2 separate regions of the Homo sapiens genome follow, and region 1 is linked to region 2. Evidence: promoter capture Hi-C in human tissues and cell types (Jung and others, 2019). All regions are on one chromosome and are shown on one strand. Each heading gives the region's core, a stretch centred on a gene start or on the middle of the fragment in contact. The rest is flanking DNA. Distances are from core to core; before and after follow the strand shown. Region 1 overlaps DCAF6 (DDB1 and CUL4 associated factor 6). Region 2 holds the start of ADCY10 (adenylate cyclase 10).

The links. Contacts are between HindIII fragments. The study calls those that stand out against the background at their distance.
Region 1: a fragment that was not itself captured here is called in contact with the fragment with the promoter of ADCY10 in region 2 in 2 of the 25 tissues and cell types used here (adrenal gland and ovary).

Annotation. Positions count from the first base shown.
Region 1 is chr1:167,962,850-167,969,880 of GRCh38, reverse strand. DCAF6 (DDB1 and CUL4 associated factor 6) reads right to left here. Exons shown (of 22, transcript NM_001198956.2): 3 at 3,160-3,252. Among named protein-coding and RNA genes, the nearest start is that of MPC2, 29 kb to the right of the region's middle. The HindIII fragment of the contact is 4,037 bases long and covers 2,347-6,383 here.
Region 2 is chr1:167,908,857-167,915,807 of GRCh38, reverse strand. It overlaps ADCY10 (adenylate cyclase 10), which reads left to right and starts at 1,674. Exons shown (of 33, transcript NM_018417.6): 1 at 1,674-1,832. It also overlaps a transcript of DCAF6 not described here. RefSeq lists enhancers at 1,293-1,969, 1,970-2,646. The HindIII fragment of the contact is 16,444 bases long and covers 1-2,177 here.

The DNA.
Region 1 (7,031 bases), core at 3,116-5,615, 51 kb before region 2:
CTCTTGAATCTGGGAGGCAGAGTTTGCAGTGGGCCGAGATCGTGCCACTGCACTCCAGCCTGGGCAACAGAGCAAGACTCTATCTCAAAAAAGAATAATAAAAAATAAAATGAAAAGTGTTACCCTTGTAATTACTGACCTAAGAGAAGTAGGATTTGAAAACATCAAGCTTTTTTTGCTAAGCCAGGACAATTAAGTAAAACTTAATGAAATAAAACTACGACCCATTAAAGACAGCCTCAATATGAACTTCTTTTTCAGCTGATAGATGATACACACTTATTTAAATATCTTATTAAGTGTGGAAAAACAAGAAATAAACAATTTATTCTGTAAAACTGAAAATTTTAAATTACACTTTGGACTGCTAATACCATGTTTTCAGATATAAAAACAGCTGTATACTTCCTCTATATATGAACTCAGAAGCTAAAAGCCAATGAAAATCAGAACATAATCCTAACCTAATTAGAACTCATATGTTATCCCAGCTTATCGAATTGTATATCATGAAGCATTTCACTAGAACCTAGCCACTGTTTGTAAACTGATAAAAATCCAGTTTCTTAAACTACTTGGCTGAAGATTACATTCTATGAGCCTAAAAGAGTAAGTCATAACCTGTAAGATCCAGCTTCAAACAGCCAGCCAGGCCCATTCAAACATCACTATATAACCTAAATTAATAGACAAAAATGTTTTAAAACATTTTTAGAAACAAATATAAAATATTAATATTAGAAAGGACTTTAGACATAATGACTTTCTTAATATATGAAGAAAAAGGCTAAGGAAAGTTTAAATAACTTGGTCAGAATGGTAAAAAAAAACCAACATATAAATCTATATTTGCCATTATAGTAATCATAATATAATTTTAAAATTTTCATGGAACTCTTCTTCATTCAAAGACCTAAATATTAATGAAGTAAATTTCACATTGCAATAATACCAAGAAGCAGATAAAGGTAAGACTACTGTGCCACTTATCAAATTATTTCCTCTCAGTTCCAAATTTACCCTTCACTTTTATAGATTATGCAATGGAACTGAGTCCTTCAAATATTTTTCCTTTGCCAGTTGGCATGATGTTAAGCTTTGCCAGTAAAAAGCACTGAAAGAATAATGCAGGAAAACGGAGTTTGCTTCCTATCTCTAATGGGAGCTCCTGCAACCATGCACAGGTTTTCCAGTGCCAGGGTCTTCCAGCACGGGCAGTTTCCCCAACACCATAGCACCAGAGTCCTGCAGTTTCACCAGGGCCCACCTACTAAATGAACAGTTCAACACCCGACAGCTTCTCCTGCCTCATTTCCCCACGTCCCTAGACATTTTGTAGCATACTACCTCTGATGAGAAACCTCTCCTTAAAAAGTATTTCTCAGTGCTCTAGAGAGAGGTGTTCCACCAAGTTCCAGAGGGGAATTCGCAACAAGTTACACTAGCATGACATCACAGAGACTTCCCTGCCATCCAGTGAGCCATGACACCCTCTTCAATAAGGTCTAAATCTCAGCACTCAGCACGGGGGGGTCTCTTCTTTTCAGTGGTTTATCTCAGTCCCAGGGTTAGTGGCGGTTCATAGTATCTGTTATTTCTGTATTTTATAGAGACCTTTTTACTTTTTAGCAGCCAAGCCTTTACTACTCCAATCTCCTGATATAGGTAGTAATTCTTTTTATTACACTTTCCCTATTGAAATTACTGTGTGGTTTCTTTGACTAGAACCCGACTGATACAATCACCAATACACGGTTGCTACTACCATAAAAAATTAAAAGCTGGAGTACATTTTTGGAATTACTATTAAAATAATAGATGTTAAAAGACTTAAAGATACAAGAAATTTGGGCTGGGCGTGGTGGCTCATGCCTGTAATCCCAACACTTTGGGAGGATGAGGTGGGCAGATCACTTGAGGTCAGGAGTTCAAGACCAGCCTGGCCAACATGGTGAAACCCTGTCTCTACCAAAAACATAAAAATTAGCCGAGCATGGTGGCACACACCTGTAATCCCAGATCCTTGGGAGGCTGAGGCAGGAGAATCGCTTGAACGCAGGAGGCAGAGGTTGCAGTAAGCCGAGATCGCACCACTGTACTCCAGCCTTCCAGCCTGGGTGACAGAGTGAGACCTTGCCACAAAAAAAAAAAAAAAAAAAAAAAAAAGATACAGGAAATTTAAGACAATCAGGAGAGAAAAATGTATCATGTGAGTTGGGAGGCAGCTAGGAAATATACATATTCCTATTCTTAACTGGAACTTTAAATGATGTGTTGAATGTTTAAGATCTTACAAATTTTAAAATAACTATTTAGTCATATTTCTAAAACAGAAGGTTTCTCATTTAACTGTTATGTCAAGTGTAAAGAACATCACACACTTTCTTTTTATTACAATCAGTCAGCTGTTTATAGCTTTATCATTCAGTATCTTAATTTCTCTGAAACCATCCTTGTAAAGGAAACATTCTGTGGATAAAATGGAATGCTATTTGAAACAGTAATTAAAGTTACTTGAGAGTTAGAAAATTATTTAATTCTTAGATATCTCTTGCCTTCTAGTGAGGGAGTTTATTAGCTTATGGTAATTTTTTTCTTCATTGAAACCATTTTAATTTTCTCAGTACCTCAAGAACTATTCACACCGCAGTCATTTGGCTGTTTTTGTCTTTAAAAGTTTTAAATGTAAATTTTCTAAAAGACTAAATTTCAAATTTTTAAGAAAACGAAACAATGACCAAAGTTGGCAGCTTTACCCACACTATTCTTAACATTAAAATAAGTAACTTTTTAGAATGTTAAGATAATATATTAAGGTAACACATAAAAGTAATTTTCTCATTAACTCATACTTTATTTATGGCACATTTTCCCCCAAAAAATGTTATTGAAATAATGTCACTTGTACCAATTATTAACCATTTAAATAAAGTATATTTAAATTTTCTAGATCCCAAGGCTGAATAAAATCTTGTTTCCCTAAGTAATCTAAGAGACCCACATGTACCTAAGAACCTCTAAATTATACAATAAACCTCAGCAAAATAGGGAGGATATTCTAATATAAATGCCCATTCTATGACTGTTCACAGTTTCTTCATTTCTGCCTTCTTGATTTTTTTTCTCTCATTAAATTACAGATTTTTTAAACTACTTTACCTTTCTGCTGTAAGGATTACTAATTACTAATTTGGTGTCATCTGAGCCAGATAAAATATATTCTCCAGTGTCATTCCAACAGATTGTATTAACCTAAAGAGAAAGCAAAAAAGAAATATAAGCAAATTGGACATAAAAGAAAATATGCCATCTTTCACTCACCTGGCGGTACAAAATTTTTACCACTAATGAGGTTATACGTTAAAAAGTATTTAACATAGGGGTGTCCAATCTTATGGCTTCCCTTGGCCACAGTAGAAGAAGAAGAATTGTCTCCGGCCACACATAAAATACACTAACACTAACAATAGCTGATGAGCTAAAAATAAATAGCAAAAAAATCTCATAATGTTTTAAGAAAGTTTATGAATTTATGTGGGCCACATTCAAAGCTGTCCTGGGCCTCATGCAGCCCACGGGCCGTGTGTTAGACAAGCTTGATTTAATAGTTGATGTATTAAAAAAACAAGCTTCCAGTTTCCAGTTCCACACGTAAGAAGCTTAGCAGTTGCCACTCCATACTAACAACAAATAAAAAGTTAACAAACTGTAAAATCAATAACTGATCTTGGATCCTTCAGAGAGGTAAGGACACAGGACAAAATGCTACCCCCTAGATTGCAGAGATGAACAGGTAAACACAAGGAGTCTTGGCTTACCAGAGCACAGACTCATGAGCAGAAACCTCTGTGAGAAACAGAGCTAGGGTAGGAAAACCTGAACTATAATTGATGAATTGTTGGAGGTTCAGAAAGCGTTAAGTCTGAATGTTAAAAACTCCAGGGAAGGCCGGGCGCGGTGGCTCACGTCTATAATCCCAGCACTTTGGGAGGCCAAAGCGGGTGGATCACCTGATGTCAGAGGTTCGAGACCAGCCTGACCAATATGGCGAAACCCCGTCTCTACTAAAAATACAAAAATTAGCCGGCCATGGTGGCATGCGCCTGTAATCCCAGCTACTCGGGAGGCCTCAGCCTCCCGACAGGAGAACTGCTTGAACCCAAGAGGTGGAGGTTTCAGTGAGCCAAGATCGTGTCACTGCACCCAGCCTACGCGACAGAGCAAGACTCTGTCTCAAAAAAGAAAAAAACTCCAGGGAACCCAGTCATGCGGTGGGGGTATGGTGCAGAGGGTGTTTTTGTGATTTGATTTTAACTTCAGAGCTCAACCAGATTTTCACAATAAATTTCAGATTAAAATCACCTTGTACATCCAGCAGAGGGAGGGAAAAAGAAACCATTTTGGGTATCCCAGAGTACTCTAACTTTCTTAACAAGATCTGCCCTTAAGAAAAGCTATTTCACCACAGCCTACCCACTGAGGTTTTATTAGAGCCTAACTGACCTAGACAAACAGAAATACCCAATTCCAGCCTTCCGCATTGGGGAAGGAAAATACATAACTCCAGCCTAATCTACTAACCTGTTCCACCTCAGTTGGGAATAGGAGGTGCTGATAATCCCTTGTGAAGCCCACAGTTCAGACGTATAGGCTCTTTAAGTGACAGACACCTAATCATAGGCCTGTAGAACACTTCCTCTCCTCCTACACTTTACCAGTAAATTCCTAAGGACCTATTTATACCATTACTTTTAATAAGTACTTCATGTCCAGTTATTAAGAAAAATTACAAGCCATACTAAAAGGCAAAAATACAATTTGAAGGGATAAAGCCAGCATCAGAACCAAACATAGCAGGACTGTTGGAACTGTAAGACCAGGAATCCGAAACAACTATGATTAGCATGCTAAGAGTTCCAATGGATAAAGTAGACAGCATGTAAGAAGAGATGGGCAATGTCAGCAGAGAGACGGAAATCCTAAGAATAAAAAGGAAATGGTAGCAATCAAAAACAATGTAACAGAAAGGAACAATGCCTCTGATGGGCGTATTAGTAGACTAGACACAATTGAGGAAACAATCTCTGACCTTGAGGATATATCAATAAAAACGTACAAAACTGAGAAGCAAAAAGAACAAAGACTGAAAAAAAGCAAAACAAAACATAATGTCCAAGGAATGTGGGACAACTACAAAAGGCATAACTCATGTATAATGTGAATACCAGAGGAGAAGGAGAAAAGAACAGAATATCTGAAATAATAATGACTGATAATTTCCTCCAAATGAATGTGAGAAACCAAACCATAGATCCAGTAAGCTCAGAGAACAATAATCAGGATAAATACAAAAAGAACTACAGCTAGGCAAGCATTTTTCAAACTAAAGAAAATCAAAGATAAGAAAAAATCCTGAAAGAAGCTGGAGGAAAAAACATTATCTATAGAGGAGCAAAGATAAGAATTACATCCAACATCTCCTCAGAAATCATGTAAGCAAGAAGAGTGAAATATTTAAAGCAGTAACGGAAACAAAACAAAGCAAAACCAACCTAGAATACTGTACCCCGCAAAATTATCCTTCAAAACTAAAGGAGAAATAAAACTTTTCTCAGATAAATTAACATTGAGGGAATTTGTTGCCAGCAGACCTACTTTGCAAGAAATTACAAAAGGAGTTCTTTAAAGAAAAGGAAAATAAACATAGGTCAGAGACATATATCTACATAAAGAAAGAAGGAGCACTGAAGGAGGAATAAGTGAAGATAAAACACAAACTTTCATTTTACTTATTCTTAATTGAGCTAACAAATTATTTTATTGTTCAAAATAACAGCAACAATGTATTTGATCATCTATGCTTATATCTAGCACATATACAAAAATATGCTTATGAGTGCTTATAAATAAGTGAAATGAATAACAGAAATAGTACAAGGTATAAGATGGAAGATTTAAAATTACTTTGTACTCACACTCCCTGTGAATCATTATAGTGTTATTTGAAATAAAGTGGACTTAGATTTGTTGTACATGTATAGTGAAAACTTTAGGGCAAATAATTAAAAAGTTTAAAAAATAGGTGTAACTAATAAATACTAAGGAAGGAGAAAAAAAAAACTATATGAAATGCTCAATTAAAACCACAAAAGGTCCAGGCATGGTGACTCACACCTGTAATCCCAGCACTCTGGGAGGCCAAGGTGGGTGGATCACTTGAGGTCAGGAATTAGAGACCAGCCTGGCCAACATGGTGAAACCCCATCTCTACTAAAACACAAAAATTAGCTGGGTGTGGTGGCATCCCAGCTACTCAGGAGGCTGAGGCAGGAGAATCACTTGAACCTGGGAGGCGGAGGTAGCAGTGAGCTGAGATTGAACCACTCTACTCCAGCCTGGGTGGCAGAGTGAGACTCCATCTCAAAAGGGAAAAAAAAAAAAAACAGAAACAAAAAAAACACAAAAGGCAGAAGAATGGAAAACAAAAATAGGAACAAGGAACAAAGACAAAAAGCAGAAACAGTTAACAAATATAGGAAATATTAATCCAACTATACCAGTAATCCCTTTGAATGTCAATAGTCTAAATTAAAAATTATTATTTTGGTTTTTTTTTTGAGACAGAGTTTCACGCTTTTGCCCAGGCTGAAGTGAAGCAGCACGATCTCAGCTCACTACAACCTCCGCCTCCTGAGTTCAAGCGATTCTCCCGCCTCAGCCTCCCGAGTAGCTGGGATTACAGGTGCCTGCCAGCCACTATGCTTGGCTAATTTTTGTATTTTTAGTAGAGCCAGGGTTTCACCATGTTGCCCAGGCTGGTCTCGAACTCCAGACCTCAGGTGATCCACCCGCCTTGGCCTCCCAAAGTGCTAGGATTACAGATGTGAGCCACCACGCCTGGCAACATTTTTGTTTGTTTGTTTTTTGAGATGGAGTCTCGCTTCATCGCCAGGCTGGCGTGCAGTGGTGCTATCTCCGCTTACTACAACCCTCTGCCTCCTGGGTTCAAGCAATTCTCCTGCCTCAGCCTC
Region 2 (6,951 bases), core at 425-2,924:
TTTAACACAGTGCCTGGTCCACAGTAAATATTGAAGATATGGAAAGTTCAGGAAACGGGCCAGGCGCGGTGGTGCATGCCTGAAATCCCAGCACTTTGAGAGGCCGAGGCAGGTGGATCACCTGAGGTCAGGAGTTCGCGACAAGACTGACTAACATGGTGAAACCGCATCTCTACTAAATACAAAAAAATTAGCTGGGTATGGTGGCACATGCCTGTAATCCGAGCTACTTGGGAGGCTGAGACAGGAGAATCACTTGAACCAGGGAGGTGGAGGTTGCAGTGAGCTGAGATCACGCCATTGCACTCCAGCCTGGGCAACAAGAAGAAAGTTCAGAAAATGGTAATCTTATTAATTGAAGGTAGACCCAGAAAGTACTTTTCTTTAAGTACTTTAAAGGAAGTTTTAATTTTACTACAAAAAGGATATACTGTGTTAACCTATTTGCACGGTTTCTGAACTAATAACTTTATAGCAGAAAAGAAGCTGCTTGGGGTAGAGGAGTAGTAGGTGGGGTGGAGAATGCTCAATAAGAGATAAATTCTTTAGTCTTTTTTTGTGGTATGGCATCTCTTTTAAGGAAACTTTGATCCAAGGTATGTCAGTGCTGCTGTTTCCTCATAGTAAATATTTTCTTTTTTAACTTATAAAATCATAGCGAAAGGTTGAATGTTAATGAGGATGGACCTCAAAGCTAAGGTTCCTTTCTGTAAAACAAAGGTCTCTACTGGAGCCTGTTTATATAATGAAGCAGAAATAGAAAACACTGGCATTTATTAAGAATAGCTCTCCCTAAGGGGATTGTTTAATTAAATGAGGTATGATTCTAATTATAAGACTGGTTTCCACAACTCACACCAGAAAATTCACTCAATGAACATAATTAAATGACCCTCTTGTTTTCCTCCCTAAGACAACTGTGTTTTACAACATTTGGAAGTACACAGTAAACAATTACAGAGCGGGGCTTTATAGGAGAACATGTACAGCTTTTTAAATAAGACTTTTTAAATTCCAATTTTAAAAGCTGTGCCCCTAAATGATAATTGTGGTTGTGATGATATACATAAGAACATTTAGAAAATCAACACATGATTTAAGCTGTTAGAAAACACACCAGCCTCTTAAAATACATTTTTCCAGTGTCACATCAGATAAAGAAAACTCAAATCCAGTGCCCATTGGATTTCAAGTTATCTTTGGGATAAATTTGATTAAAAGCGTGCACTTGACCAGTCAGAAAGGGCAGGTATATAATTCTTCAAACAAAAATTTACCTCACAAATATATCTGAAGGTAAGTATTGAATTTATTATAACTGGTAAATTTCATAGTCCTGGTACAAGCTGTAACCACTATTGACTAAAATTAGGTGTTTGCTTGCTCTGGAGATACTTCTGATGATCACCTACCAACTATTGCCTAATTTCAACCATCCTCCACATGGCCAAGGGAAGAATTGTGTAAACTACTCTGGGGTCATGTCAGTCTCCCCTGACCCTTGCCTCAAATGTGCGGATAAGAGAACCTGAAACAGCCAGTCCTTCCTTGTACAGTAGTAGGCCACTCAGGTTGGTGGGGGAGGGGACGGCAGTGCCACCCAATCAGAAACATGGTCGGTGCCCGTGGAACAATGAGCTACTGATGAGGGTGTGGCCTGGAAAACGGCTTTTAGACAAAACTGTCATTTTATGGGTCAGCTATAGACAGACATGGCGCTTCAGCTGTCTTCAGAATAATGTCACCCGGCCTCCTCTCCTGTCTTCTGCAGTCTTAAAAGACCTAGTCCCTAACTGAGGTCTGGCTTTTCCTCAGCCCTGGATGAAGTGGAGGTATGTGGAAGTAAGAGTCTCAGCAGAAAGATTGATTGCAGAGCTGAAGATGAGGGCGACCGTCAGGAAAGAAGACAGCTATTGCAGAGGAGTGGGAAGCCTGGGGCTAGAAGTCAGGGTTCAAGTTTGTGTATACCTCTGTGTCAGTCCCTTACATGAGCTTAGAAGCTTGAAGGCTTAAATATTGCCTCACCTTCTCAACCTGGATGCTCTGTCTTTCTAGCTTACTTTCTTTATTTGCCTCTTTTCTGCAGTTTCTCACGTGATATCCTCCTTTTTATCAGTCAACAACTACCAAGTGCCTACCTCTTGAAGGGGGCTCTGGCAAGGTGCTGTGGAGTAAACAAAGATATGTAGAAGATGGTTCCAAACGGGGAGCTTACAATTCAGATGAAGACAAAATAGAAGCAATTCAAAAGATAATCAAGGATATTTGTATGGGAAATAAGCCACTTAAGTGTAGACATTAAGAGCCACAATAGCTCAGAAGAAAAATTACCATGGCTAGAGTAGGCAAGCAAGCTTTCATGACAGGTAACACTGTGCCTTTAAGTTCAGAGTATCTCCCTCTTTGGACTCGTGAAACCTGACTTTACATGTAGGTGAAAAGTTGAATATAAAATCTATTAGGAAATTCTAGAGGAGAGATTTAGAGAAACTGATGAATATAATCGAACCCTAATTTCTCTTTTCATTTTTGGGTACTACTGAGTTTTCTTTACTCACACTCCGCATTCAGGAATCCTTCTTGGTTTATCTTTCGGGCCTCATTCGCCTGCTTGCCTTTTGACTCAGGTATCCTCATTTCTCATTCCAAGGTGCTTCCGCGCTTTGTCAGTACCCATGCTGTTCATGCTGTATTCTTGATGTGATAGAATTGGCTGAACAGTTGATAAGGGTACCATCAACATGCATTGAAAGTGCTCTTAAATTAAACCTACATCTTTTGTCTAGGTCATATACATCCCCAAAGTGCTATAAAGCGTATACAAATGGGATATAGCATGATATAGTAGAAACAACAGGGACTTTCAAGTCCCACAGACCTGGATATTCCAGCTTTATAACCCAGAGCAAGTTAATACCTCTGTGCTTCAGTTTTCATATCTATAGAAATCAGGTCTACTTCATAGCGCTGTTTGGATGATTAAATGAGGCAACCTATGTAGAATTGATACGGCTCCGATGAGTGGAGGAACACCAAGGTTCTTAGTCCTCATCCCGGTTTAGATAAAACGACACAGACACATGTGGAGTGATTTTAAGGATCGGAGAGTTTAATAGGCAAGAAGGAAGAGGAAAGAGGGAAGAAGCTCCCCCATACAGAGACAGAGGGAGGGGGGCTCCAAAGCCGAGAGAGGGAACCCCCAGTGGGGTGGACGTCAGCTAGGTATATATTACAGACGCTGGAGGAGGCAGTGTCTGATTTGCATAGGGTTCAGGGGATTGGTTTGACCAGGCATGTCATTCACAAAGCCCTTGAAAAAGCTAGCCCTCTCACCCTAGCCTTTTAATATGCAAATGCAGGGTGCCATGATGTTCTACACACGTGGGAGTATGTGGAGGTGGCCATGTTGCCAGGAACATGTGGGGCAAGGGAAAGAAGGCCTCCGGAATCGCCATGTTGGGTGGGCCCTGTTTCTAATGGCCTTCATTTGCTTATCAAAGGTTGCCGGCCTGGCTCTAAGAGCCAAGGCTTTACAAGAAATTTTCTGGAGATGCTTTAAAAAATGAAAATTTCCCAAGGACCCCTTTTCCTCTCTATCTGCCTAAAATAATTTCTTAATAACTCCTACAATAGAATGCTTCACATAAAAAGGTCATAATAAATTATAATTACAATGTGGTATGTGCCTGTAGAAAGGTAAATACAGCTATCACTAATCATTTTGTGATGTTGCAGAACTTAAAGCAGAAAACTATATCTTCAAAAATAGAAAATTTCTATTGTCTTTTATGGGTGTTCATAAGAAACTCCCAGATATTTATTTTAGATCTCCCTGCCTTTTAAACCTATCATTTTCTTCTTTTAGTTTCACATCTACATATGCCATCTTAATCTCAAAATGCATGTACTTTCCTTGTTTGGTCATCATAAACAGAAAAATCTGTCCAAGTTCATTCACATCACCTTAATTAAAACAATAGAATCTTAACAATCATCTAATTCATCTCTACACTGACTAAAATCACCTCTGTTTGAAACGCTTGTTCTCCAATGCCATAAAGAAATAGCACTTGAACATAAATTTATTTAGTAAGGGCATTTTTACTTCCTGCAGAGAGGGTATACTCGCCAGCAGTTTTGCCACGAGAGTACACTGAACAAAGGAGACGGGGTCATTTATAACCTGACACGTTCACCCTACTGCCCATTGGCCGGAACAGGACCTCACATTCTGTATTTGTCCCGATCGGCTAGCAACTTAGAACTTTTAAAAGAGGCAAAGGTAGAGGAGAACAAAAGAAGGAGGAAGTAACTTGTGGAATGCTGAGAAAAGTAAAAATACTTTTAAATAAGGAAGAGGAACAGGCTATGACCTAATGGTTGCTTGGACCAGTATAAGCATGCCAGGGCAAATATTTAGGCTACATTGTGGGAGCCAAGAACATAAAGTACATTGATTTCTTTATTATGGCTAGCAGATATTTAAGAATGTTAGCACAGGTCTTTGAATAAATTTTGCTTTTAAGATAAGTTACTATTTATTCCTAATTAGACGGGGAGGAAAGTCTTTGAAGAGGAACCTCTACTTTACTTTTTATACCTCTACCCTCACAGGTAGATAGCTATTCAACACTTCCTAAAACTGCCCAGTTTGAACACTCATTCTTACATTGTTTATATTTGTCCTTCGGTGATTGCCAGTCATTGATCCTAGTTGATCCTGAGCAACAAAGAATAAACCTAACCCACTTTCCATCCAGTGTTAACAACTTTAGCAAAACAGTCTATACTATGCATGTGAGGAGAGTGTGGTATTGCCAAGATTGAAGGGGCTGATAGTAGGGCTGCTAGAAAGAATGCAATGTTTGGAATATATTTATACTAAAAAATTGTTTATTTAAAATTCAGATTTAACTGAGCATCCTCTGTTTTCATTAGCTCAGTCTTTCAATCTTACAAGCTTGGTAGCTAAAGAAGTCAAAGTTGAGCCAGTGAACTGGGGGCAGGAGAGGGAAGAATAGAGCTACGCCCTGCTCAGTTCTGCTCAGTCCTATCTTAGTTCTCTGGCTACTCAGCACATCTGTGGAAGCCACTTCAGAGCACCCATGCCTACGGAACATACTGTTTACAGTCACTTATTCTTTGATAACTAGCTCCCTCCACTGAAGAAAAACACACCAACTTTCCTTTCCCACTGCATACTTCCCATGAACTTTAATCTTGCTAACCCAAACCAAATTTCTACCTCAAGGAGAAGGTAGGGAAGTTGTTCTTTGATTGCAGGGTCCCACATTACACCTTGCATACACACCCATGTCCCCCACTTAGCCCACGTCCACCACTTACCCCACAACTTTCACAGTTCAGCCCAAATATTTGAAGACAACTACAATTTTAACCAAAATGTCATAATTTTCTGACTTATTTCCAGTCTCTGCCATCATTCCTCACATTCCAGAGTCAATGAATTTTAAAGAGGTCAATGAACTTCAGTCCTCTGGATTAGATTTGAACACTTTTATGTATCTTAAAATTGCATTGCATCCAAATAGCTAGTTAACATATGAAAAGGTGCTTAATCTCCTTAGTACCAACAAGGAAACACAAAACCACAGATACCATTGTAGCAGGACGAGCCACAGACAAAACCCCTTAGACACCCGGGTTAAAGAAGGAAGAGGCTTTATTCGGCTGGGAGCATTGGCAGACTTGCATCTCAAGAACTGAGGTCCCCAAAGAAACAGTTCCTGGCCCTTTTAAGGGCTTAGAGCTGTGAGGGGTTCCACGTGAAAGGGTCATAATAGATTGAGATCTGTAGATAGCACATGTGGTTAGAATGGGGGTTAATCTTTTAACCTCAGACCTGGTCATCAGTGGCGCCGGCTGGTCTTGCCACTGACTTCATTCCTGTGTTTTTCAGCTTTTACTTCCTCTTTCTCTTCAGAGACAAGAGACAGTAAGAGAAATGGCCTGTCTCCTCACCACCACTTACCTAGCAAGATGACTAAAAGTTGAAAAGCCTGACAAAATAAGTGTTGGCTGAGATATGTAGCAACTGAACTGTCATACCTTGCCTGAGGGAGTGTAAGTTGGTACCATCACTTTGGAAAGCTGTTTAGCAAGATCTACTCAAGCAGGGGTATCCAATCTTTCGGCTTCCCTGGGGCACAATTGGAAGAGGAAGAATCATCTTGGGCCACACATAAAATAATACTAACAATAATGATAGCTGATGAGCTAAGAAAAAAAAATCACAAAAAAATCTCATAATGTTTTAAGAAAGTTTACAAATTTGTGTTGGGCTGCATTCAAAGCCATCCTGGACCGCATGTGGCCCACAGGACATAGCTTGGACAAGCCTGTACTAAAGTTTAACATGTGTATACCCTATGACCCAGCAATTCCACTCCTGTGTATATACCCAGGAGAAATGCATACATCTTTTCACCAAAACACATGAATAAGAATGTTCTTAGCACCATTATTCATAATGGTCTAAAAGTGGGAACAACCCACAGGTCAATAGTATAGTGGATAAATGTTTTGTGGTATATTCCATCAGGTGATGGAATACTATATAGCATTGAAAATGAACAATTATTGATATACAACAACATGGATGAATATCACAAACACAAAATATGTAGTATGATTTCATTTATATAAAGTTTGAAAACTGGCAAAGGTGATCTATGTTGTTAGAAATAAGAAAGGTTACCTTCAGGGAAAAGAGAAGGGTAGTGACTTGAAGGTGGCATGAGAAAAACTTCTGGAAAGCTGGTAATGTTTTCCTTCTTGCTATGAATGGGTATTACACGGATTTGCTCACCTTAGAGTAATTCAAGCTATACACTTATGATTTGTACATTTTCCTACATGTATGTTATGCTTCAATAAAAGTTTTTTAAAAGATAGCACTAATTTGCAGTAAATCTAGTTTTTTAGCACCTC